Regions from separate parts of the Homo sapiens genome. Here regions 2, 3, 4, 5, 6 and 7 are each linked to region 1. Evidence: promoter capture Hi-C in 16 types of primary human blood cells and fetal thymus (Javierre and others, 2016). All regions are on one chromosome and are shown on one strand. The core of a region is centred on a gene start or on the middle of the fragment in contact, and the rest is flanking DNA. Distances in the headings are between cores, read along the strand shown. Region 1 holds the start of PUS7 (pseudouridine synthase 7). Region 2 overlaps CDHR3 (cadherin related family member 3). Region 3 overlaps KMT2E (lysine methyltransferase 2E (inactive)). Region 4 overlaps KMT2E (lysine methyltransferase 2E (inactive)). Region 5 overlaps KMT2E (lysine methyltransferase 2E (inactive)). Region 6 overlaps KMT2E (lysine methyltransferase 2E (inactive)). Region 7 overlaps SRPK2 (SRSF protein kinase 2).

What was found. Contacts are between HindIII fragments. The CHiCAGO score rates a contact against its expected background, and 5 or more counts as called.
Region 2: a contact is called between a fragment that was not itself captured here and the fragment with the promoter of PUS7 in region 1, in 1 of 17 cell types (total CD4 T cells). The highest score is 5.0, in total CD4 T cells.
Region 3: a fragment that was not itself captured here is called in contact with the fragment with the promoter of PUS7 in region 1 in 5 of 17 cell types (neutrophils, total B cells, fetal thymus and 2 more); the score reaches 6.7 in neutrophils.
Region 4: a contact is called between a fragment that was not itself captured here and the fragment with the promoter of PUS7 in region 1, in 2 of 17 cell types (total CD8 T cells and naive CD4 T cells). The highest score is 7.2, in total CD8 T cells.
Region 5: a contact is called between a fragment that was not itself captured here and the fragment with the promoter of PUS7 in region 1, in 1 of 17 cell types (naive B cells). The highest score is 5.1, in naive B cells.
Region 6: a contact is called between a fragment that was not itself captured here and the fragment with the promoter of PUS7 in region 1, in 6 of 17 cell types (total CD8 T cells, total CD4 T cells, neutrophils and 3 more). The highest score is 8.7, in total CD8 T cells.
Region 7: a fragment that was not itself captured here is called in contact with the fragment with the promoter of PUS7 in region 1 in 7 of 17 cell types (total B cells, naive CD8 T cells, naive B cells and 4 more); the score reaches 8.8 in total B cells.

The regions. Positions count from the first base shown.
Region 1 is chr7:105,520,749-105,524,207 of GRCh38, forward strand. PUS7 (pseudouridine synthase 7) reads right to left here and starts at 1,523. Exons shown (of 16, transcript NM_019042.5): 1 at 1,304-1,523. RefSeq lists enhancers at 1-35, 350-1,004, 2,288-2,788 and silencers at 547-692, 902-1,651. The HindIII fragment of the contact is 10,027 bases long and covers 1-3,459 here.
Region 2 is chr7:106,031,222-106,034,680 of GRCh38, forward strand. It overlaps CDHR3 (cadherin related family member 3), which reads left to right. Exons shown (of 19, transcript NM_152750.5): 19 at 1,172-3,459. The coding sequence ends at 1,476. Among named protein-coding and RNA genes, the nearest start is that of CDHR3, 70 kb to the left of the region's middle. RefSeq lists an enhancer at 1-215. The HindIII fragment of the contact is 2,174 bases long and covers 856-3,029 here.
Region 3 is chr7:105,018,589-105,022,047 of GRCh38, forward strand. All of the region lies in intron 1 of KMT2E (lysine methyltransferase 2E (inactive)), which reads left to right. Among named protein-coding and RNA genes, the nearest start is that of KMT2E, 6.1 kb to the left of the region's middle. The HindIII fragment of the contact is 1,322 bases long and covers 852-2,173 here.
Region 4 is chr7:105,050,328-105,053,786 of GRCh38, forward strand. The region is part of intron 3 of KMT2E (lysine methyltransferase 2E (inactive)); the gene reads left to right. Among named protein-coding and RNA genes, the nearest start is that of KMT2E, 38 kb to the left of the region's middle. The HindIII fragment of the contact is 337 bases long and covers 1,758-2,094 here.
Region 5 is chr7:105,080,336-105,083,794 of GRCh38, forward strand. KMT2E (lysine methyltransferase 2E (inactive)) reads left to right here. Exons shown (of 27, transcript NM_182931.3): 13 at 1,353-1,462. Among named protein-coding and RNA genes, the nearest start is that of KMT2E, 68 kb to the left of the region's middle. The HindIII fragment of the contact is 3,696 bases long and covers 3-3,459 here.
Region 6 is chr7:105,098,462-105,101,920 of GRCh38, forward strand. It overlaps KMT2E (lysine methyltransferase 2E (inactive)), which reads left to right. Exons shown (of 27, transcript NM_182931.3): 16 at 2,964-3,128; 17 at 3,425-3,459. Among named protein-coding and RNA genes, the nearest start is that of KMT2E, 86 kb to the left of the region's middle. The HindIII fragment of the contact is 1,649 bases long and covers 753-2,401 here.
Region 7 is chr7:105,119,180-105,122,638 of GRCh38, forward strand. The region is part of intron 15 of SRPK2 (SRSF protein kinase 2); the gene reads right to left. Among named protein-coding and RNA genes, the nearest start is that of KMT2E, 110 kb to the left of the region's middle. The HindIII fragment of the contact is 3,192 bases long and covers 372-3,459 here.

The DNA.
Region 1 (3,459 bases), core at 273-2,772:
TGTTCAAGGCCGAGTGTGGTTGCTCAAGCCTGTAATTCCAGCACTTTGGGAGGTCAAAGCAGGAGGATTGCTTAAGGTCAGGAGTTTGAGGCCAGGCTGGGCAACACAGCGAGACCCTGTGTGGTGGCACATGCCTATAGTCCCAGCTACTTGGGAGGCTGAGGTGAGAGGATTGCTTGAGCCCAGGAGTTCAAGGCTGCAGTGAGCGATGATCACGCAACTGCACTCCAGCCTGGGCAACAAGAGCAAAATTCTGTCTCAAAAAAATTAAAAAAATAAAAATAAAAAAACCAAAAACATGTTCACAAGGAGTTGTTAAGTACGTACTGTTGGCTACTTTCCTAATGTTTGAACCTAACAATTGCCTAACCAACCCCTTTTCAATAGTGTTGTACAGTCTGATTTTCGACAGATCCCTCAATAGTCGAGGCTCCCCCAGGCCAATGGGGCATAGTCATTTCATAGATGATTAGAGGCTTGGGGATGGGGGGGAGGGAACCTTAGTAACCCTTTATTTTTGGAATGGAAAAAAAAAGTAGTCTGACGGGACCAAATATTTTAAAAACTAAACTCTTTGCCAACCCTACTCGGCAGGCAACGAAGGTGTGCTTCTAAACACCTCTGCGCAGGGCTGACGAGGAGGACTCGAATTTCAGCTTGCACAGCAGCACCTCCATCCACTCGTTAAGCATTCACCCAGCTTGAGGGCTGGAGAAAGCACTCTGAGTCTGCAGCCCGTCCACTCCTACTCTGGGAAATGCATACAAAGCAAGCAGTCCCCAGAGCCCGCGTGGCGCCTAGTAGGCTCCCAGTGAGCGGCGACGCAGGACACAGGGGTGGAACACGTGGGCTGGACCCACAGAAGGCAGGCGCGGCGAAGCAGTGGCACCGTGAAGGGCTTCAGGGCCAGTGTTCCTCTGACGGAGGGACAAGAGTTTAGGGAGCGTCCGGGGCAAAGAAAGGGAGGAGTGGGAAGGGGGCCCCCGGGGGACAGCGCCGCGCGGGGAGGAGGGGAGCGCTCGGGCGCGGCGCCTCCGGACGACTGGCCGGGCAGAGCGGAGCGGGGAGCGGGGAGCGGAGAGCGGCGCCTGCACCGCCGAAGCGCAGGACCCACTGGGTTCCAACCGTGCTCCCGCTGGCACGATCCATAATGGAGGCGCCGCGGGCTCTGACCACTGCGGGGCCGCCTTCCCAGTCCGCCTTCCCAGTCCGCACTGCCTCTTGGGGCGGGGCCCTGGGGCTGGGGCTGGGGCCAGGGCCAGGCCGAGGAGCCCCGGCGGCCGCGGGGAGGCCGCGCACTTACCCGGAGCCTGGGAGCGCGGGCGCGGCGTGAGCTGGGCGGCGAGGTGGCCAGCGCTCTGGTTGGGACGCAAGAGAGCGGCGAAGGCCACTTGGATGAGCCAGCGGCTAGGGCGGCCAGGCAAAAGCAGCGCTTTCCGCGCGGAGGACCAGATGCGCTCCAGCCGACTCACCGGCGGCCGGGCTCGCACACGTGCGGCGCAGCGACGCGCCGCGGCCCGACTGGACCCGCCCCGGGGGCGGAGTCCGCTCCCTGCCGCCGGCCCCGCCCCCGGCCCACCCACTCGGAGCGGCCTGCAAGCCAGGGAGCGCCCCAACGCGGACTCCCAGCCTACGCGCGTTCACCCTGGACCTTCCTCGCGACCGCGCCTGAGTCGCACCAGCGGCAGAGAGCGATTTCACCAAGCATCTAAGAGTTCTTTAGATCTTTAGGAAGTCTAAGGCAGCGATTGCCTCCTTTGGTGTTATATTCTAAGTGTTTCCTTCACATAGTTGTGGCCCTTTCACGTTGCACCGACCACGCAGTTGACAATAATGGAAAGAGAATCACTTTAGGGACTAAATATTGTTCTACATTTGATCCTGGGAATGTAGTGGATCTAAAAGCACCATCTTCCTACTTCTTACCGCTCTGGCTTGATGGCTTGCCATAGGATCTGCTTCAAGAAACCGGATCATAGGTTTTTTTTGTTTTGGTTTGGTTTGGTTTTGACAGAGTCTCGCTCTGTCGCACAGGCTGGAGTGCGGTGGCGTGAACACAGTTCACTGCAGCCTCGACCTCCCAGGCTCAAGCAATCCTCCCACTTCAGTATCCCAAGTAGCTGGGACTACAGGTGCATCCCACCGCACCCAGGCTAATTTTTTTGGGGGTGGGGGGTAGAGACAAGATTTCACTATGTTGCCCAGGCTCTAATAGTTTTTTTGCTTTTTGTTTGTTTGTTTGTTTTTTGAGACGGAGTCTTGCTCTGTCGCCCAGGCTGGAGTGCAATGGCGCGATCGCTGCTCACCGCAACCTCCGCCACCCGGGTTCAAGCGATTCTCCTGCCTCAGCCTCCCGAGTAGCTGGGATTACTGGCGCACGCCACCATGCCCGGCTTATTTTTTGTATTTTTAGTAGAGTACGGGGTTTCACTATGTTGGCCAGGCTGGTCTCGAACTCTTGACTTCGTGATCCGCCCGCCTCCGCCTCTGTGTTGAGATTACAGGCGTGAGCCACCGCTCCCAGCCTCTAATAGTTTTTCCGTTTTGTTTTATTTTGTTTGAGAGAGAGTCTCACTCTGTTGCAGGGTTCAAGCGATTCTCCTGCATCAGCCTCCCGAGTAGCTGGGCCTACGAGTGCTTGACATCATGCCAGACTAATTTTTTTGACGGGGTTTTTGCCTGTTGGCCTTGAACTCCTGACCTCAAGTGATTTGCCTGCCTAGGCCTCCCAAAGTACTGGGATTATAGGCATGAGCCACCATGCCCTGCCCAATTTGTTTTTTTGTTTTGTTTTTTACACAATGAAATATACTATTACCGGCCGGGCGCAGTGGCTCACGCCTGTAATCCCAGCACTTTGGGAGGCCGAGGTGGGCGGATCATGAGGTCAGGAGTTTGAGACCAGCCTGGCCAACATGGTGAAACCCCGTCTCTACTAAAAATACAAAAAATTACCCAGACGTGGTGGCACGCGCCTGTAATCCCAGCTACTTGGGAGGCTGAGGCAGGAGAATCGCTTGAACTCAGGAGGCGGAGGTTGCAGTGAGCTGAGATCGCACCATTGCACTCTAGCTTGGGCAACAAGATGGAAACTCTGTCTCAAAAAAAAAAAAAGAAATATATTATTACCATACAATTCAGCAATTACACTCCTTGATATTTACCTAAAGGAGTTGAAAACTATGTTCACACAAAAACCTGCACAAGTATGTTTATAGCTGCATTATTCATAATTGCCAAAACTTAAGGACGGGCCGGGTATGGTAGCTCACGCCTGTAATTCCAGCACTTTGGGAGCCCGAGGTGGGCAGATCACGATGTCAGGAGTTCAAGACCAGCCTGGCCAAGATGGTGAAACCCCCATCTCTACTAAAAATACAAAAATTAGCCAGGCGTGATGGTGGGCGCCTGTAATCCCAGCTACTCAGGAGGCGGAGGCAGAAAATTGCTTGAACCCAG
Region 2 (3,459 bases), core at 693-3,192, 510 kb after region 1:
TCTTCCTGGATGCTTCTAATAGCACTTATTAGTAGTGGAAGATACAGAGAAATGGCAAGTGTAGTTTCTTTTTTCCCTAGATCAGGGCCAAGAATTTCCTCTTGGTCGGCAAGATGAACATAAGGTAGAGCTGGCCTCCAGAGCTCTCATCACCCCCGTGAAATCAGCTCCAAATTTAGCTCCTTTACACTCATCCCTCTGCTTACAAAGGCTCAATTATAGACGTGAATAAAGGGAAGGAAACCAAATTCAGGAGGCAAGTGTGTTGGCTTCCTGCCACCCTCATATGCAAACGGCACCGGTCCTCCTCCTAAGGAGGATGGCTCCTCTCCAGTGAGAGGCTGCCGCCGCCGCTGCTGCTGCTGCTGGAATTAAATTTCCCTCTATTATTAGGTGCTTGTTACCATAATGTGCCCACATTAGCATAAGTGCTGGTGGGATCCTGAGCTGAGAGGCCACTCATGCTGTATGGAAAAGACAAGGAGCAAGGGCTTGCCTTAAACCTGATCTTCCAGAGCAAAAGGCTCTTCCAGAGCAAAAGGGGGGATTTTTGTGTTTTTGTGTAGTTGAGAGAAAAAAAAAAAAAGAAAGACATGAGCCAACTGGCCTAAGTCAATTAGTGTCTGCTGGCTCGGACACAATAAAAATGGCTTCCTTGTATCATCTCAAGCGGGACCAGATTTTTGTATCTGTGTCTACAAATTGCTGCTAACCTAACATAAATAAAAATCAGCCTTTTCCTTCTCACTTGGTGAATTCCTTTTTATAGCAGGAATTCAGGGGTCTTTTAAAACAAACAAAATGAATCAGAAAGTAACGGGTAATCCCATTAGAGATTGAACCTAATTTATCCAAAGCTTGCATGGAGTTCAAGAGTTACATGGCCTTCTCATCCTGCAATTGAGATGTCCTTGAGACGCTCCTAAGCCTTTCTATCCAGAGAGGTTTGCTGTTTGCTACCTGTGTGGTCCGAGCAGCACGGCTTGTGGCAAGGGCAGGCTGGTGGAGATTGTGGGGCTATTCACACACCTACTGTCTGTGTCAGTGATTCACACCTTCTAGTGTGCTTCATCTTCCCTTGGGAGTCAGAACAGAGCAGGGTAGAAGTGGGGGAAGAGACAGTCATTGGAATTTTCTGGCTTATGTGATTGTTGTATTTTTTTTTCACTAGTGACCGGGGAAACATATGAATTCAACTCAAAAACTGGAGCCAGAAAGTGGAAAGATCCACTAACCCAAATGCCAAAATGGAAAGAGTCCAGCCACCAGGGAGCTGCCCCACGCAGAGTCACTGCTGGGGAAGGGATGGGGTCACTGAGAAGTGCCAACTGGGAAGAAGATGAGCTGAGTGGCAAAGCGTGGGCTGAGGATGCTGGTCTGGGTTCCAGAAATGAGGGTGGCAAGCTGGGCAACCCAAAGAACAGAAATCCAGCCTTCATGAACAGGGCTTACCCCAAACCACACCCAGGAAAGTAAACGGGGTCTAAGGAGGGGCCTGTCAATCACTGAGATGCTGCCTCACCCTAAATTCTATGGGGATGGTGTGGGCATGGTGTAGGGGGGAAAATGTGGGCTGAGGGGATTCAGACATCCAGGGTCAAACATGGGATGTTTGACAAATTTTTAAACAAATAGAAAGGGGTTTGATCACATAGTTGCGTGTTCTGAAATGATACAGGAACATTTTCTATCAGATTTCAGAACTACCTGTGCTTCTGATAAGCAAGACTGTTAACTTTGGGGTGTGGAATTGTTGTGTTTCTTCTTTGCATTGACTGCTAGGAAGCTCTATTCTGTTCACCATAGAAAGTTTGTAGGAATTCCTGACATAAATAGTGAAGACTATCCTTACATCTGGTTTCCACCTTATTTTCCTGCCCTCGTTTTAACATCACCCAGATTTCTTCAGTTATAAATATGCCATACACCTTTGTAAGTCACCTCAAATCTTCTTCAAAAGAAGCAGAACAGTGAAAAAAACAGATGAGTAAGTTAAGAGTTGGTCATCTGGAAAGAAGAAAACTCAGTAGGCACCTTCTTTTGTTTTTTCTTGTGGTGTCCGGATCAGCATCCTGCATGTGAGATTCATCCACGTTGTCCTGTCTAGCAGTAGTTCAGTTCTCTTCATGGTTATGTCTGGTTTCATTCTATGATTATATCACAATTTATCTATTCTACACTTGGGTGGCAGCTGCTTCAGATTTTTTACTTTTAAAAAATATACTTAAAAGTGAACTACAGGCAGGGCATGATGGCTCATGCCTGTAATGCCAGCACTTTGCCAAGGTGGGCAGATCACCTAAGGTCAGGAGTTCAAGATCAGCCTGGCCTAGATGGCAAAACCCTGTCTCTACTAAAAAATACAAAAATTAGCTTGGTGTGGTGGTGGGCACATGTAATCCCAGCTACTTGGGAGGCTGAGGTAGGGAGAACTGCTTAAACCTGAGAGGTGGAGGTTACAGTGAGTTGAGATTGTGCCACTGCACTCTAGCCTGGGTGACAAAGCAAGACTCCATCTCAGAAAAAAAAAATAAAAGTGAATTACAACACTATGAACTTTCTTGTACATGTCTTTTGGTGAACATAAACACTCACTTTTTTGCTCATATATCTAAGAGTGGGATTGCTGGAGCAATTGCTGGATCTGCCAAAGAGTTCCAAAGTGGTGGCTCTGATTCACATTCCAGCAGCAAACACTGAGAGTTGCAATTGCTCTCTATCCTTGCCAACACTTGGGATTGTCAATCCTTTTAACTTTAGCCATTCTGGTTAAAATTACTATTGAAGTGAAATCACTTTTTCCTCAAAGCTGAAACACCATCAGCCTTACAACCTACCTGCCTTGCTCCTTCCCACTTCCTATGATTGGAAGGAACTGCAGGACTCTGAGTGGGGACATACTGGAAGCCCCATCTAGACATAAAACTCAGACTTCCACCTGTAGGCATGAGCAATGAACTGGGAATAAATGGTATTATGATGGAATAGGAAATGTAACTTTCCAATGTGTGCCTAGCAGAGCCTGAGCAAGCTTCACTCGAGCTCTATGCCCTGCTGCCCAGCTGCTGCGACCCTAGTCCAGTAACCCTAAGAAAGGTCCAGGTGAGTGTTCATTAGGGAAGCACTCCCTTCCCAACTGGGGAGTCAGGTGAGAGCCTACCAGGTCCACAAGGTCCTGTGGGAGACAGACTGGATCCAGCAAATGTAGAGCTTCAGAGAGAGCAGCAGCTTGTTTACTGTGTGCCTAGTGCCAGTGTCACTTCTCAAGCAAAAGAAGCATTTGCAAAATGCCTGTCCTGGCCTAGATTGAGCGTGATTTATTAATAAGGGTTGGTTGCCAGGGAACTCCCTTGAATGGATTTAAACTTTGCAAAAGAAGGCAGAACTGTTCATTTATGCAGGTTAAAGTGAGTGAAGTGGCTGATTGCCCATTTAAGGCATTGCAAATCTGTGGGGCCC
Region 3 (3,459 bases), core at 263-2,762, 500 kb before region 1:
TGAGACTTTTTAATATTGAAAATATAATTATTTTATGGTAAAATTAATTTTTATGTTGACTGGCAAATTAACGAGTGGAATACTATTTGAAATATTACTCTGTGAATGTTACTGGCTTTTAGGCTGGGTTTAAAATTGAAGTGGCTCGTATTTACTACCTGTTCTGTAATGTGCAGATGTTGGGAGGAGCCTTATTTTTTTCTTGACATTGAAAGAATAATTTTTTGTATTACCTACAAATTTACTTAACATGGAGGAACAGTATTTGTTGTTGAAATTGTTTTCTACACTAAACTGGAAGTGGATGGTATTTAACTAAAAATCTTGCAATTGCTATTAAACAATGAGTATTTTGCATTATATAAAATAAACAGTATTTTACTTTGTATAATATAAAATGAGTATTTTACTTTATATAAAATACTCTGTTTAATAGCAATTGCAATATTTTTAATAGCAATTGCAAGAGATAAGAATTAACCATATTATGATGCAAACAAATTGTTTTTTTGTTATTGTGAACTTCCATGCTAAGTGCTACATTAAAAATCAAATGAAGGTGACCCAGAGTAAGTTAATTAGATTTTAATTCATATCTTTAAGGATAAAAGAAGTTTTTATTAACCATTGGTAACTAGGATGCTTTTTACTTAAATCAGAGTCAGGAAAAGCAGTTGGTCTTATATTTCACGAGATAACATGTTTTCACTTGATATGAAATCAGTTCTTTTTTTCCCTCATGAACAGCTCATAATTGGATTTTATTTTTGGACAGAAAAACTTTTTTTATTGTTAGGTGAATTTTACAGTTTTATTGGAAATCTCGTTTGGTTATTTACCAAAACTATTTAAGCTTTTTGGGATGTTGGACATTTTCAATGCAACAGGTCAACAAAGAATTCTTTTTTGATGTGTTGCATTAAGATGCCATCAAAACAGACACTACGTCTTTTAATGAGTAAATAATTAACCTATAATATGTGTAAACTACTTGTTCATCATTTTTAATTAAAATATTTTGTATTTCAAAACTGTTTCAAATATGAAATCTGGGTTTAGAAAGGATCTGCATGCAGGTCAACGTGATAAGCAATGATCTATGTAGCTTTATTTTTACGACAATTGGACAGAGGTAATTTCTTAGCACCTCTTAGGCTGCTTAATTTAGAGTTAATCCAAAGGAAGAAACATTCCTTCAGAAGACTAGGACATATCAGATATTAATTATTAAAAATAGGCTGGGCACGGTGGCTCATACCTGTAATTTCACTACTTTGGGAGGCCGAGGCAGGCGGATCATTTGAGGTCAGGAGTTTGAGACCAGTCTGGCCAACATGGTGAAACCCCATTTCTACTAAAAATTACAAAAATTAGCCGGGCGTGGTGGCAGGTGCCTGCAATCCTACCTACTCAGGAGGGCGAGGCAGGAGAATTGCTTGAACCCAGGAGGCGGAGGTTGCAGTGAGCCGAGATTGTGCCACTGTACTTCAGCCTGGGCGATAGAGTGAGACTCTGTCTCAAAAAAAAAAAAAAAGTAAATAAGTAAATTAAAAAAAAAAATTCTTGGTCCTGAATTTTAATATTGAGAAAGATGATATTGTGTAATCACACCTGTGTAATAGCCAACTTGGTTGCAGCATTTAAGGTCATGCCTGTCTAGCATACGATAGTGGATTGAGTTAGTTTTGGTTTGTGGTACTTACAACTTTAAAGTTCACTTGGCCTGGCATGGTGGCTCACGCTTGTAATCCCAGCACTTTGGGAGGCTGAGGCAGGTGGATCACCTGAGCTCAGGAGTTCAAGACCAGCCTGGCCAACATGGTGAAACCCCATCTCTGCTACAAAAATTAGCTGGGCTTGGTGGCGGGTGCCTGTAATCCCAGCTACTTGGGAGGCTGAGGCAGGAGAATTGCTTGGACCTGGGAGGCGGAGGTTGCAGTGAGCTGAGATCGTGCCAGTGCACTTCAGCCTGGGCAACGAGCGAAACTGCATCTCTAAAAAAATAAATAAAGTTTATGTAATTATGCTGTCTCATGTTTTATCTGAGACCAAAAATGTTTAAATTTTTTCATTTATGTTGACTTTTGTTTTCATAGGGTATTTAAAATAATTTCCATTTAAAGTCTTAAAAATTTACACTTATAAATTATTTTAAACTTATTTGAGTTAAATAAGCTTAAAGATTAAATATCTTTTCCTTACCGTTTGGCCTAAGATGAAGCCTAGTGTCAGTGGTTTTTAGTAAAAAGTGAGGAATATGGTGAAAAGAAAAGAATTAACCATTACCACTTAGGATATTGTCAGGGAAACATAGTTTGGGTCTTTCAGAGAATGTGTATGAGAAACATACACTCTTCTAATATTTTTGTTTTCTTATTTCAGAGACTAATATATGTAATCGTTTCTATTTTTGAGTTTACAGAGAGATATCTCCAGTTCCTCTTACCATCTTGCTTTATGTAACATTTAAAGAAAGACAGCGTTCAGGAATTTGAAAACCCCATTTCCTCTTTAATGAAGTGGCTGAGATGGGAAGATTCATGATGTGACTAATTTGAATGGTTAGGACTGTGGTCCAGTAGCCATAAATAGGGGTCTCAGGTTGGTCTGATACATAGTAACTCTTACCCAGAAAATAAGTCTCTGCTTCTTCTCTTTAAATGAAGTTGCTTAATTGGTTGCCTTGACACAGGCTTATTACATCTTACATCATTAAGCCTTCGCTGTAACAATATTTTTGAAGCACAGACAAAAGATGAATTTGAGTAGCTATTATTTTCCTGGCACCACAGATGCAGAGAGAGATGAGACTGTCCCTGCTTTGAGAGAACCCGTAGTTTATTTCACCTTCTTAAAAGCCTGCTGTTTTAGAGTTTTTTGGATGCAAGGAACAGAAATCAGCTCTAGCTAGCTTAAATAAAGGATTTGTTATAAGGCTATAGGGAAATCTCACATAATTTATTTGAAGAAAGTACAGATGGGCCTCACAGGAATTGGCAAGGTGTCAAAGAGCCACTATTCACCATCTTGATCCCCTCTAATTATCTGAGACTAGTTAGAGAGATGGTGGTGGGGTGGGTGTTCATGGTTTGTAGAGTGGCGTTTCTCAGAGTAAAGCAAGAGAAAGACACGTTTAATTCTCCTGAAAACAATTACCTTTTTCCAGGAATGTTCAAAGGTACTTGGGAGGGCTTCCAAAACTAAATAATTGATATATCACACTGATGATTCAATTTTTAATTAAAAAATTGCCACACACACATGATGAGGAATGCTAAAAAACCAAGATATTTTTGGTTTTAACTTAAAAATAATGTAAAATTTACTGAAAATTTACTTGAATAGTACAAATAACTCTCTTATACTGTGTACCAAGATCACCGGACTTGTGACATTTTGCTGTTTGCTTTATTATTCTCTTTATATATACACCTGGTATTTTTCCTGAACCATTTGAGA
Region 4 (3,459 bases), core at 676-3,175, 470 kb before region 1:
ACCACTATTGGTCATTTTTTCCTGGCTTATTCTGTTATGCCCAGGTGCTTTAAATGTCTAAGACTCAACTGCAGTCCCCTCTCCTTTTAAAAAACTTGGTTTTTAGGTTATTACCTGACTTTAAATATAATCTCTGTGTGTGGTTACCCTCAATTTTTTATGTCCAGTCATAATCTTCCTAAGCTCCAGACTTGTATACCCAAGTTGACAGCTTCACTTGGAATTCTTGATGTTCTTCTGCCCCCAACTATCTACTTTTGGTTATTGTTTTTTAGGCTCATCTATTTTTTTTCCTTTTCTTTTCTTTTCTCTTTTCTTTTTTCTTTCTTTCTTTCTTTTTTCTTTCTTTCTTTCTTTCTTTCTCTTTCTCTCTTTCTCTCTCTTTCTGTCTGTCTGTCTGTCTTTCTGTCTTTCTTTCTTTCGACAGACTCTTGCTCTGTCACCCAGGCTGGAGTGCAATGGCATGATCTCAGCTCACTGCAATCTCCACCTTCAGGATTCAAGTGAGCCTTGTGCCTCAGCCTCCTGAGTAGCTGAGATTACAGGTGGCCACCAAGCCTGGCTAATTTTTTTATTTTTATTCGAGATGGGATTTCACCATGTTGGCCAGGCTGGTCTCAAACTCCTGGCCTCAAGTGGTCCACCTGCCTCGGCCTCCCAAAGTGCTGGATTTACAGGCATGAGTCACAGCACCAGGCCTCATCTATTTCTTTCTTTCCTTCTTTCTTTCCTTTTCTTTCTTTCTTTCTTCTTCTTTCTTTCTTTTTTCTCTCTCTCTCTCTTTCTTCCTTTCCTCCTTTCCTCTCTTCCTCCCTCCCTTCCTTCCTCCCTTTCTTCCTTCCTTCCTTCCTTTTTTCCTTCCTTCCTTCCTTTTTTAGATGGAGTTTCGCTCTTGTTGCCCAGGCTGGAGTGCAATGGCACGATCTTGGCTCACTGCAACCTCCGCTTTCGAGGTTCAAGCGATTCTCCTGCCTCAGCTTCCCAAGTAGCTGGGATTACAGGCATGCGCCATCATGCCCAGCTAATTTTGTATGTTTACTAGAGGCGGGGTTTCTCCATGTTGGTCAGGCTGGTCTCAAACTCCCGACCTCAGGTGATACGCCCGCCTCGGCCTACCAAAGTACTGGGATTACAGGTGTGAGCCACTGCCCCTGCATCATCTATTTCTTTAAATGGCTACATCTCTATCCAGTTGCTTAAAACTCTAAGCTGTCAGTCTTGATTGGTCCTTTCCCCTTAACCCCTATGTCTAATTTATTGGTCTGTACTGGGTCCTCCTTCAAAGTATATTTTTGTTTTGTTTTGTTTTGAAATGGAGTCTTGCTCTGTCACCCAGGCTGGAGTGCAGTGGCACAATATTGGTTCACTGCAACCTCTGCCTCCTGGGTTCAAGCAGTTCTCCTGCCTCAGCCTCCAGAGTAGATGGGACTACAGGTGCGCGCCACCACGCCCAGCTAATTTTTATATTTTTAACAGGATTTCATCGTGTTGGCCAGGCTGGTCTCGAACTCCTGACTTCACAAAGTGCTGGGATTATAGGCATGAACCGCCGCGCCTGGCCAAAAGTATATTTTGAATCAGTACACTTTTATCCATTTCTACTGTTGTCCTCATCCAGGCCCTTGTAATCTCTTGACTAGACACTGGAGTGGAATACTCTCCATGTTTCTCTTTTGCCTTCTATCATTTATTTTCTGTAGAAGCTACTATGCTTCTTCTGAAGCATAAACCAGATCATACAATTCTCCCACTTAAAAAGCTTCCAGTGACTTTCTGTTTTACTTAAAATATTAACTTTTTATGACCATAAGGCCCTCCTTCCCTAATCTCGTCTCACTATTCTCTTATCTCACTATTACTTCCATATTGATTTTTTGTTGTTGTTCTTTTGAATATTTTACATTTGTTTCTGCCTTAGGGACTTTGTACTCGTGATTTCCTCTGCCTGGATCATTCTTATGTTCTTGGCATAATCTTAGCTAAACTCAAATATCACATACTAGTGAGGCCTCCCCTCTTCCATTATCTAAAATAGTATCTGAAATACTTGTTTTATTTCATTGCTGCCGTGCTTTATATTTTTACTAAAACATAAGCTTTATGACTATAAACATCTTGTCTGTTTTATCACTAATATCATTGTATCTACAATGGCTAGCACAGGGTTTGGCATATAGTAAGCATTGAGTCATGAATCATATTGCTTGAAGGTCATTTTTTATTTTTATTTATTTTTTATTTTTATTTCTGAGAAGGAGTCTCACTCTGTCGCCCAGGCTAGAGTGCAGTGGCGCAGTTTTGGCTCACTGCAACTTCTGCATCCTGGGTTCAAGCGATTCTCCTGCCTCAGCCTCCCAAGTAAATGGGATTACAGCTATGCACCACCACACCCAGCTAATTTTTTTTTTTATTTTTTTATTTTTTTTATTTTTAGTAGAGATGGGGTTTCACTATGTTCGCCAGACTGGTCTCGAACACCCGACCTCAGGTGATCTGCCCACCTTGGCTTCCCAAAGTGCTGAGATTACAGGCATGAGCCACTGCACCCAGCCTGTATTGCTTGAAGATCTAATAGTTAACCCTGAAGTTTATTATATTAAGAAGGATTATTGAATGCCCATATCCTAACTATACTTCAGTTGTTAAGAAGAGATAGAACTACAGCTAAACGTATTTTATAGCCTCTTCATTGTAGAAAGATGTACAAAAATACAGCACCTGACGGTGCTGTATAATTGAATGAAAAGTCCCTCATATATAAATAGTCTTTAAAAATTGGCATGATTTCAGTATATTGAATGCTAAGTTTTTTTAAGTCGCGGTTTTGGTTAATACCTGTTTTGGGAAGCTGGAAATTTTTTTAAAGGCATTAGGAAACTGGCAGAATTAAAATAGTGATGAGAGGGAGATTGAAATTTATTATTAATATCTATGTTATCTAAGTGATTGTTTACTGACCATGATATAATAAATTGAGACATAACGTAGGAAGAGAAGGGATGTAAAATTATTCAGTATAAAGAATTTTAACAAGTACTGGTATTTTTTGAGTGATAGTATTTTTACTATGAAATTTTTTGCATACTGTTTAATTGATGAAGGATTAAAGATCTAGTTTGCAGATCATATAGTTATAAGAATTTACGGACTTAAAATATATAATAATTTTATTCTCTCAACTCTAAAGTCTATATAAAGATTGCTTTTCAGAATTTATAGTAATGTGCTATAGATCAAAGATAGGCACTTGAAGCTGATTCTTGCTGGGCACACAGTGGCTCATGCCTGTAATCCCATCACTTTGAGAGATCAAGGTGAGGGGATCTCTTGAGCCCAGGATTTTTGAAACTAGCCTGGGCAACATAGTGAGACCCCTGCTGTCTACAAAAATTTTTTTAAAAATTAGCCAGGCATAGTGGCTCATGACTGTAATCTACTCAGGAGGCTGACATGGGAGGA
Region 5 (3,459 bases), core at 601-3,100, 440 kb before region 1:
GAAGCTTTTTAGTTTTGTAATTATATAATGTTGCAGCCAAGAATGTAGGTGTTTTTTTTTTTTCCTCTCTTTTCTTTTTTTAAAAGACAGGATCTTGCCATGTTGCCCAGGCTGGCCTGGAACTCCTGGGCTCAAGTGTTTGTTCTGCTTCAGCCGCCAGAGTAGCTGGGATTATAGGCATGCGCTGCTGCACCCAGCTAAGAGTACAGATTTTGGAACCAGACTTAAATTTATTTCTTCTCTGTGACTTACTAGCTTTTTAACCTCAGTTTTATCTGTAAAAAGGTGATATGAAGACTGAAGGAGTTAATACATATAAAGTATATAGAATAGTGTCTTGTCATAGAAAAGTAGCGTTTGCTCAACCATTATTGCACTCATCAAACCTAAGAAGGCCAGGCACAGTGGCTCACACCTGTAATCCCAGCACTTTGGGAGGCCAAAGTGGGTGGATCACCTGAGGTCAGGAGTTCAAGACCAGCCTGACCAACATGGTGAAACCCCATCCCTACTAAAAATTAGCCAGGTGTGGTGGCACGCACCTGTAGTCCCAGCTACTTGGGAGGCTGAGACAGGAGAATCACTTGAATCTGAGAGGTTGGGGTTGCAGTGAGCCAAGATTGCATCATTGCACTCCAGCCTGGATGGCAGAGTGAGACTCTGTCTCAAAACAACAACAGCAACAACAAAAAACCCTAAGATGCCACCAGTTATAAGACTCCTGATTTCAGAGATGCTAAAAGGTGAAAAAAAAGAATTGATGAGGCTGGGTGCGGTGGCTCACGCCTGTAATCCCAGCACTTGGGGAGGCCGAGGCCGGCACATCATGAGGTCAGGAGATTGAGACCATCCTGGCTAACACTGTGAAAACTCGTCTCTACTAAAAATACAAAAAAAAATAAGCCGGGCATGGTGGCAGGTGCCTGTAGTTCCAGCTACTCGGGAGGCTGAGGCAGGAGAATGGCGTGAACCTGGGAGGCGGAGCTTGCAGTGAGCCGAGATCGCACCACTGCACTCCAGCCTGGGCGAAAGTGTGAGACTCGTCTCAAAAAAATAAAAATAAGAAGAATTGATGAAATATAGTATTTTTATTATTATTATTATTATTATTATTATTTTGATGCCACATTGTGGGCTCTAGGGGTTGGGGTGGCAGTGGATAGCAGTATATGATTGAAAAACCTTCCCAGTTGATAACCACCAATAGATAGTTATAAGCCTTGTCATTAATGACATATTTTCCAGGTTGTGTTTGTGAAATAATTTGAAAAGAATAATTTTCAAAATTGTAAGCTGATGCTTCTGAAGGCAGAAAGTAATTTATGGTAATGTACAATTATTTTAACTTTTAGGTGAGGCATGAAATTCAAGATGGAACCATACATCTTTATATTTATTCTATACACAGTATTCCAAAGGGAACTGAAATTACTATTGCCTTTGATTTTGACTATGGAAATTGGTGAGTTCAAGTCTATAAATGTAATCTGTTGTTTGAAAATAGTTCCATAATGTCCCTGTAATAATTTAGGTATTGTCATTACTTTTATAGCTTTTTATTTTTATCTATCATGAATCAGTTAAAAGTACTTGAAAACCAGAAGTTTAGTATCAGCCTCTATTACAGCATTGCTACTTTTCATTTCTACATTTTCCTTAATTATTATTGTAATGTAAATGTTCACAGTAATTATAACAAGTAACCCTAATTCAGCCATACAACACTGACCTTGTTTATGTGAGAATTTTTTTCTTCTTCTAGGGGATATAATTTTAGTCATACAGTTTATTTGGTTAATCAGTATGAATGAATAATTTGTCTTTTGCCCCTCAAAACAAAAGAAAATTTTCTTTGCAGTATAAATTAAAAGGGTTTGTTGGAGATCCTACAAAGAAACTCTAAGAACTATTTTTCTGAAATACTAGTAAAAAACTAATGATAAATCTCAGTACAGTTGGCCCTTGCACAATGCGGGGTTGGAGCACCAACTGCCTGCACAGTCCACAATCTGCGTATACATTTTGACTCCCCAGAAACTTTACTAATAGCCTACGGTTGACTGGAAGTGTTACCAATGACAATTAACACATATTCTGTATGTCTTATACTGTATTCTTACAATAAAGTAAGCTGGAGAAAAGAAAATGTTTTTAAGAAAATCATAAGGAAGATACAATATATTTACTGTTCATTAAGTGGAAGTGGATTATCGTAAAGGTCTTCATCCTCATCTTCATGTTGAGTAGGCTGAGGAGGAAGGGTGGGGGTTGCTCTTGCTGTCTCAGGGGTGACAGAGGGAGAAGGGGTAGTAGAAGGGGAGGCAGGAGAGGGAAGCACATATGGTGTAACTTTATGAAAACATATTAGTAATTTCTGCCTGGCTTTTTTGCTTTCTCATTTCTCTAAAAATGTTTCTATATGGTGCCAGTCTTCCGTCATTTGCTTTAGCTTCAGTGCCCATATCATAGAAGAGTCCATATCATAAAAAAGTAAAAAATCAGTCTTGAAAACAATGGAGCCCTTCTGCCAGATTGTCTAATGTAAATTTGTTTTTTGGCACTGCTTTTTCTACATCTTCTTTCTCATCATCTGGCACTGGTTTGGAAGCAATCATCTCCATTAGGCATCTTCTGTTAATTTCTCTGGTGTGGTGTCTATTAGCTCTTGAATTTCTCTGAGATCCATATCTGTATTCTTCCTTCATCCCCACCTTTTTTTGTTATATCCATGATCTCTTTCATGATTTTTCTGATTGGCTCTGATGTAAATCCTGTGAAGTCATGCACAACATCTGGACACAGTTCACTCCAGCAGGAATTTATTGTTTTGGGCATGATGGCTTTCACAGCTTTTTCTATAATGATGGCATCTTCGATGGTATAATCCTTCCAGACTTTCATGATCTTCTCTTTCAGGGTTCTGTTCCATAGTGTTGACATTCTTTTCCATAGAGTACTGTGTGTAATGAGCCTTAAAGGCCATTATCACTCCTTGATTTAGAGGCTGAATTAGAGACACTTTGATGCCCTCAGTGTTGAACTCATAGGGTTCTGGGTGGCCAGGGGCATTGCCCAGTATCAAAAGACATTTAAAAGGCAATCCCTTCCTAGCTACCTGTTGTCTGACTTGAGGGACAAAGCATCAATGGTACCAATCCAGAAAAAGGGTTCTCCTCCAGGTTTTCTTGTTATACAACCAAAAGACTGGCAGCTTCCGTTTGTTTTCCCTTCAAGGCTTGGGTTTAGCAGCTTTATAGATAAGGGCAGTCCTGATCATAAACCCAAATGCATTTGCACAAAACAGTAGAGTTAATCTGTCCCTTCCTGCCTTAAATCCTGGTGCTTCCTTCTCTTCCTTACTAATAAATGTCTTTTTATGACTTTCCCCCCCCAGAATAGGACATTTGTGTCTGCATTAAAAGACTTTTCAGGCAGATACTCTTTCTCCTCAGTGATTTT
Region 6 (3,459 bases), core at 327-2,826, 420 kb before region 1:
GTGGCGCAATCTCAGCTTACTGCAACCTCCACCTCCCTGGTTTAAGTGATTCTCCTGCCTCAACCTCCTGAGTAGCTGGGACTACAGGCGCGTGCCACACCTGGCTAATTTTTGTTTTTTTAGTAAAGACAGGGTTTCACCATGTTGGCCAGGATGGTCTTGATCTCTTGACCTCATGATCCACCCTCCTCGGCCTCCCAAAGTGCTGGGATTACAGGCATAATAAACCACTGCGCCCAGCCTAAATTTTTTTGTGGAGATGGGAGTCTTGCTTTGTGATGGGGATATTATTAAGCAGACTGCTTATAGGAAATTACAATGCTTGGTATTTACTCTTGGAAAACCATAAACTAAGACATATGTCATAAAAACAATGTATAGATTTCATGGGAAATCTATCGAGTTTAGATTATATAGCACAGGTGTTAGGGGCTATGGAAAGTCTGCAGGGGTTAATTAGGAATCCTAATTTCTCTATCTCCAGAGTCAGCTCTAACTACCTCAAAGAATAAAACTTATTTTTCAGTTAGAGCTATAAAATGGGAGGCAAATTTTGTCTTTAAATAGGTACCATATACATGGCTGTGTCAAAGAATGTACTGTATGTAATGGTGACTAGAAAAGCTGAATGATGTATGACCTTTAAGAAATTAAAAATAAATGTAGAAAATCAGGCACGTTTATGTTCCAAAATATTTGTGTATTTTAAGATAAAGCTAGGTCTAAAGCTGTTAGGAAATGTTTAGTGCTTAAGCTTTATTCTTACCCAGCTGTAGTAATGTAGGAAGAGTTTTGCTTTATGTAGCGGCAGTAATTGGAAAGAAGAGTAATACAGAAACCAGGAAACCTGCATAACCTGCATAGTAATTATGGCTCTGCTTTTGAATGAGTCACTTAATACACATGGGCTTTGGTTTCTTCAGCAGTATTGGACCACATTATTTTTTAAGATCCTGATCAACTCTAGAAGATTATGAACCATCTCTAAATACAGGATTTTGCTCTGACTATAAATTAGCTGTAGTGTTTACAGGGGAGTTTGATTTTTTAATTGAATGTTTATATCATATAGTTTTATCTCTGACCAAAACAAGAAAATATTTCTTGTATCCCAAACAAGAAAATATTGGACTATGTCAGACTCTGTTGGCATAAATTCATATTTACCTTACAACACCCAGGATAATCATACTACAAAAAATATCTTCCTTGGGTGCCCACCTGTGGGTAGTTTTTTATTTTACACATACAATGATTTTTGCCAAGACAAGTTTGTTTCTTCTGGAAAAATGTACTTTCCCCAAATTTTTTATTTTAAATTTTTTGAAAAGAAATAACCATAGTAATTAATCCCTCCTCTCCAACCAGGTTCATCAGGTAAAGCGCAGTTTGGGAAAATGATCTTTTTAGTTACTCCAAATTTCTCCTCTTCTACATTCAGGGTTTTAGAGAAGCCCTGATAAAAACAGTTTTACAGAGAACCACAAGACAAAAAGGGGTAAAGGTAATTTAAAAGCCCAAAAATAAGGAATTTTGTAAGGAAAGAACTCAGCTGTAAAACTTTCAGTGCCAGTGAACAAGTAGAACCATCTTTTGCATGTGCTATTGTAGTGTTTGCCCGTCCCAGACTAGGAGAAGTGAGATACAGATACGTAATCCATGAACAAAGAACCTTACCTCTTTGGACCTCAGTTTCCTCAGAGTCATGTTTGCAATATGGAAATTTGCTGTAACAAATTAGAAACTTAGAAGTATTATTAGAGTACTTTTGTTGACATAGTATTTTGTTCCCTTGCTGAGTGTAACAACAACAACAAAAATACAGGAACAGGTAAACAGTAGTTTCCAAAGTGTAGGTATCTTGAGGCTTGAATCTCTGCTGGTAATTACTGGAACTAAAGCTCCAATATTGAGAAGACTGTGGCATCCAGACCTTGAGTTTCTGATCTTTCTTCCTCACATCGATGTGTAATAAAGGAGGAAAGACAAATGGATCTGAGCCTCAGGACCTGTGGTTCTTTTCATTTTAAGAACTGGACAGTTGATGGATGTGGTTCCTGGTTCTGGTTTAGAGCTGAAGCATCTGTCAAGGCTCTGGGTCTTACTCTTAATGTTCTCTTTGGATAGAGAACTGATGCTCAAAGGAACACTTGGCTGTTTCTCAGTCCCTGTCTTGAATTGTCAGTGAAGACAGGAAGAGCAGAAGGTAGAGGAATACTTTATAAGAATTACAATGGAGGGCAAGAGGACTAAAGTAGAAATAATAATTAACATACAGAACGCCCACCATTTTCCAACTACTGTTTGAAAACCTCGTATTTTCTGTTGGAACCAAATAACAACTCAGAGAAGTTCATCATAAATGAACTTCTTGCCAGACTTGAAAAGAGAGAAGAGAACAAGCTTTGGAAAGGATTTTATTACCCACATCTTACTGTCTCAGAAAGGTTAACTTGCCTGGAGTCACAGAGATACTTACCAAATGAGAATCATAATTTTTAAATGCAAGACTTTACCTCACAACATCCTGCTGCAGTATGCCAATAATATACTCACTCAAGTGCATATGAATTTTACCTTTTCAACATATCATTACCTTAGGGATTTTGGATCTTTTTTTAAAAGGCTGATTTCTGTATTATTAAGAGAAAAGATTTTCGGTTTGGTAAAACAAGGTAATTTTTGAGGCTTTTTTGTTTTGTTTTACCCTTATCATTAACACTCAGTCATCCAAGTGTTTCCTTCATGAAATATTTGCAATAACAGGGCTTACCAAGATGATGGGAATTCTGAAAGGTCTTCAATGAACAGAAATGTTTTTTCTCCCCATATCCACCAATAATAGAAGTAGTTTGCTGATAGTATCATAGCAATTATTTTTTACATTTATCACAAACATTTGGACTTAATTTTACTTTTGAGCATTGATATTTATGATGTCACTTAAAATTTAAATTTCATAGACAAGAGAAGAAAGAAAAATGGAAGCAATTTTGCAAGCTTTTGCCAGACTTGAAAAGAGAGAGAAAAGAAGAGAACAAGCTTTGGAAAGGATCAGCACAGCCAAAACTGAAGTTAAAACTGAATGTAAAGATACACAGATTGTCAGTGATGCTGAAGTTATTCAGGTATTATTTATTCAGGTCGTTTTATTTTCTTAAACACTTTAAAATAAAATGTCTATACTTGCATTAATTACTTATAAGGAATTTAAAATAATGTCTATTAGCTTTTTAATAGCATTTTTCAGATCCTATGGGAGTTTCAGCTTGAGATAAAAGACTATATATTATCTCTGTTCTTTATTATATATCAGAATTCAAAAATTCCAGAAAGTTGGCTTCTGAAGTAGAATAATGCTATTATATTTAAACTTTATATATATGTAGTATAAAAACTTCCATTCGCTTGTATTTTGAATTAGGAACAAGCAAAAGAAGAAAATGCTAGCAAGCCAAC
Region 7 (3,459 bases), core at 718-3,217, 400 kb before region 1:
CTCCCCTTTCAACTGCTTTAATTTAAACAAGGTACATTTTTTTCATGAGATGCATCAATAGATAATCAGTGCTCTGCTCACAAAGGTGTTCTCAGGAGGCTTGTTCTGTTTCACCCATTTATTCGAGTCAACTTGGAAAAGCCCTCCCGTTTAAAAACACAATGAAAAGGAAAGAGCATTACAGAAAAGTATAAGAACAAAAGGGGAAGTAGCCTACAATCCTACCCACAACTGCTCTTCTTTTGTGTCTATTGTGAAGAGTGTTCTTACACACTAGTATGTCTACAAAGTTGCAATCATGCTGTGCACAGGGTTCCGTATAAAGAATCTTTTAAGAGGGCTGCTTGCTAAAGGGGCTGAGATGTAAAATAAGCTTCTGTTTCCAATATGAGGACTGGAGCTAGAGTAAAGCATCGCATCCAGACTAGACATCAGGTCTGTGTTGATGAAGAAATGAACCTGTAATATTAGAGGCGGGAAAGGATCTCCTGTTGAAGGAAACACAGTCTCCATAAAAACAAAGTCTGAACAGAGACTGCAGGTTTATCCCTCTAAGCCTGAAATTCCGGCTCTAGGAATCCAGCCCAAGGAGATAAACCCTGGTTGCACCACCCCAAATTCATGCCTAATATATGCTGGCACAAAATTATATGTACTCGCAAAATTACGAAGAGCCAGTAATAGTAAAATGGTGGTTAAAAGAAAACCAAGGTAGATTCACTTAATAGTATTTAATATTACTTAACAACATGGGAGAAGATCATGGTACAACATTAGGCAGTAAAAGAACAGTCAAACTATGTCCTACAGATAATCACAAGATTATTAAAATGCTCATTAAGATGGAAATCAACTGAATCAAAACATCAGCTTTTGTTAGTAGGTTATTTCAATTTCCACATTTTCTGTAATATGACTATATTGATTTAGACTGTTGATCTCACCACAGCAACAGTTAAAGCAAACTAAGAAAGCTCACATGTGACTAAACCAAGTTCTCTGGGAAAGGGAGCGAACTTTTATGACATGAATCTATTCTATCTCAGAAAAAATACTCTCCAGGTTTGCAAATATAGGTAACTACAGAGAAGCACTGTGTGCTGAGAATAGTAAAGGAACCTATTTCTGAGGCGCCAGGTGTTAAACTAAGATCCATCAACAAGGCATCTTTTAAGTACAATCTTCCATGAAAAGAGAAGTTTTACCACTATAAATGCTTAACAGCTGCATAGTAACAGTGAGCAAAACAATATAATAGTGAAAGGCCATGAGAAACTATTCATCCATAACTAGGCATACTATAAACTGGTAAAAATATTCGCAAGGAGCAGTAAAATATCTAACTACTTTTAACAAGGTAAAGACTGTGCAAAGAAGCAGTCTATAAACAACAGTATATGCAGGAGAGTCCTAAACACCTATGGTCCTGAGCACAGAGCAGCACTGCAATATAACAAAACACTGAACCGCCTCTAAAAAAAAAAAAAATGTGTGGACTTTTTTTGTGGAAAAAGTTTATAATATAATGCAAAGGAAAATCAACTCACCCAGATGCTATAATGATTATGTGTGCAAACCCTTAAGCTCAGTATAAGAAGTAACCTTGCCCTGGAAATAGTTGATAAGGTTACTTAAACACAAAGCCCAAGCCCCCAACTCTGTATCTATTGCTAGGAGACACAACAAGAGTGGGCTCACTGAATGAGTGAGGGTCTCGAGTCCATGAGCCAGCTCCAGCCCTGCAGATGATGCCCAAGAAATGTAGCCACCTCCATCACTTAGAATGATAATTAAGAATAAGAGGGGAAAGCATATTTTAAAAACACATTTTCACCATTTGCTCTTACTATAAAAGTAGCACCCTAACAAGTTAAAGAAATGTCATCGGCCGGGCACGGTGGCTCATGACTGTAATTCCAGCACTCTGGGAGGCCAAGGCAGGAAGATCACCTGAGGTCAGGAGTTCGAGACCAACCTGGCCAACATGGTGAAACCCGATCTCTAATAAATACAAAATTGGCCAGGCGTGGTGGTGCACACCTGTAATCCCAGCTACTTGGGAGGCTGAGGCACAAAAATCGTTTGAACCCAGGAGGCAGAGGTTGCAATGAGCCAAGATAGCATCACTACACTCCAGCCTAGGCAACAGAGTGAGACTCTGTCTCAAAAAAAGGAAAAAAGAAAATATATGAAGACGTAAAAAAAAAAAGAGAGAAAAGAAAATATATGAAGATGTGTTTCACTGAAACAAGTTTTGCAAATAACTAGACAACTGTGACAATTTTAGTTTCTTAAAGTTCCATTTCTAGCCTGTCCTCCTTAAAGAATGTGGAATATCACTTCACCCTTCCTGTGACTATCAGCTGTCAATCTCAGTATCAACTCACACACACACAAGCAAACATGAGCCTGGCAGCCAATTGTGTGGTCCCCAAGAGCCCCTTAGGCTTCTGAATTTGCTCTGAGAAACAGCTTGAAAGAGCCAAGGAAAACCAACAGGAAGCAGGCTCTGAGGAAGGGTTCCTCCTGCAGAGTAAAGGCTTTGTGACAGCAACTGTACTGGCCAGTCCTGGACTTGCAGAGTCCTTCTAAGGAAACAGGGAAGTTCTATTATACTTCTCTTGAATCTTAAAGTGGTTTGTGAAGGAAAATACATTATTTTATCCATGAAATTGTCATATTCCAGAATTAAATAAAGAAGCCCATGAGGTTCCACACTACATGTGGGAGGACTCTAAAGGCAAATCCTGGACTATATTTACATGAACACTGGTAATTACAAAGCAAACCATGATATAAAACTGATGAGCATCAATTGTGTACACGTAGAAAGTAAACCTACCAAGAAATACCAATACAAAGCAAGAGACAATGAAGAGATCTGAATGAATTCTTACACAAGTAGACAACCAAATGTAGGTAAATATTGGAGTTTAAAATGTGTATAAACCCTACCTCACATCCCATACAAAAATCAACTCAAAATAGGTCATATGCCTCAGAGCTAAAACTAAACAATTCCTAGAAAAGTAAATCTTCATGACCTTGAAGTAGGCAATGATTTATTAGATGTGACATCAAAAGCACAAATTGTAAAATGTATATAAATTGGACTTCATCAAAATTTAAAAATTTATACTTAAACTTTCACATGTGTATTCAAGAGAAACGGAAACATCTGCCCACACAAACTTGTACATTAATGATCATAGTAGCATCATTCATAATAGCCAAAAAGTGGGGGAAAACCAAACGCCCATCATCTGATGGAGGGATAAACAAGAGGAGTGGCAGTGACAACGCCCAGCCTGTGTAGCTGTCAAATGCCCACGAAAGAGCTTTCTTTGCTCTTTACAGCATCAAAAGAATCTGTTGCTTTTTAGGTATTCAGGAGATAATTTTAAAACACTGTGACAAGTTCAGCTCAGACACTAAATATTAAAAATACAGAATACAGTA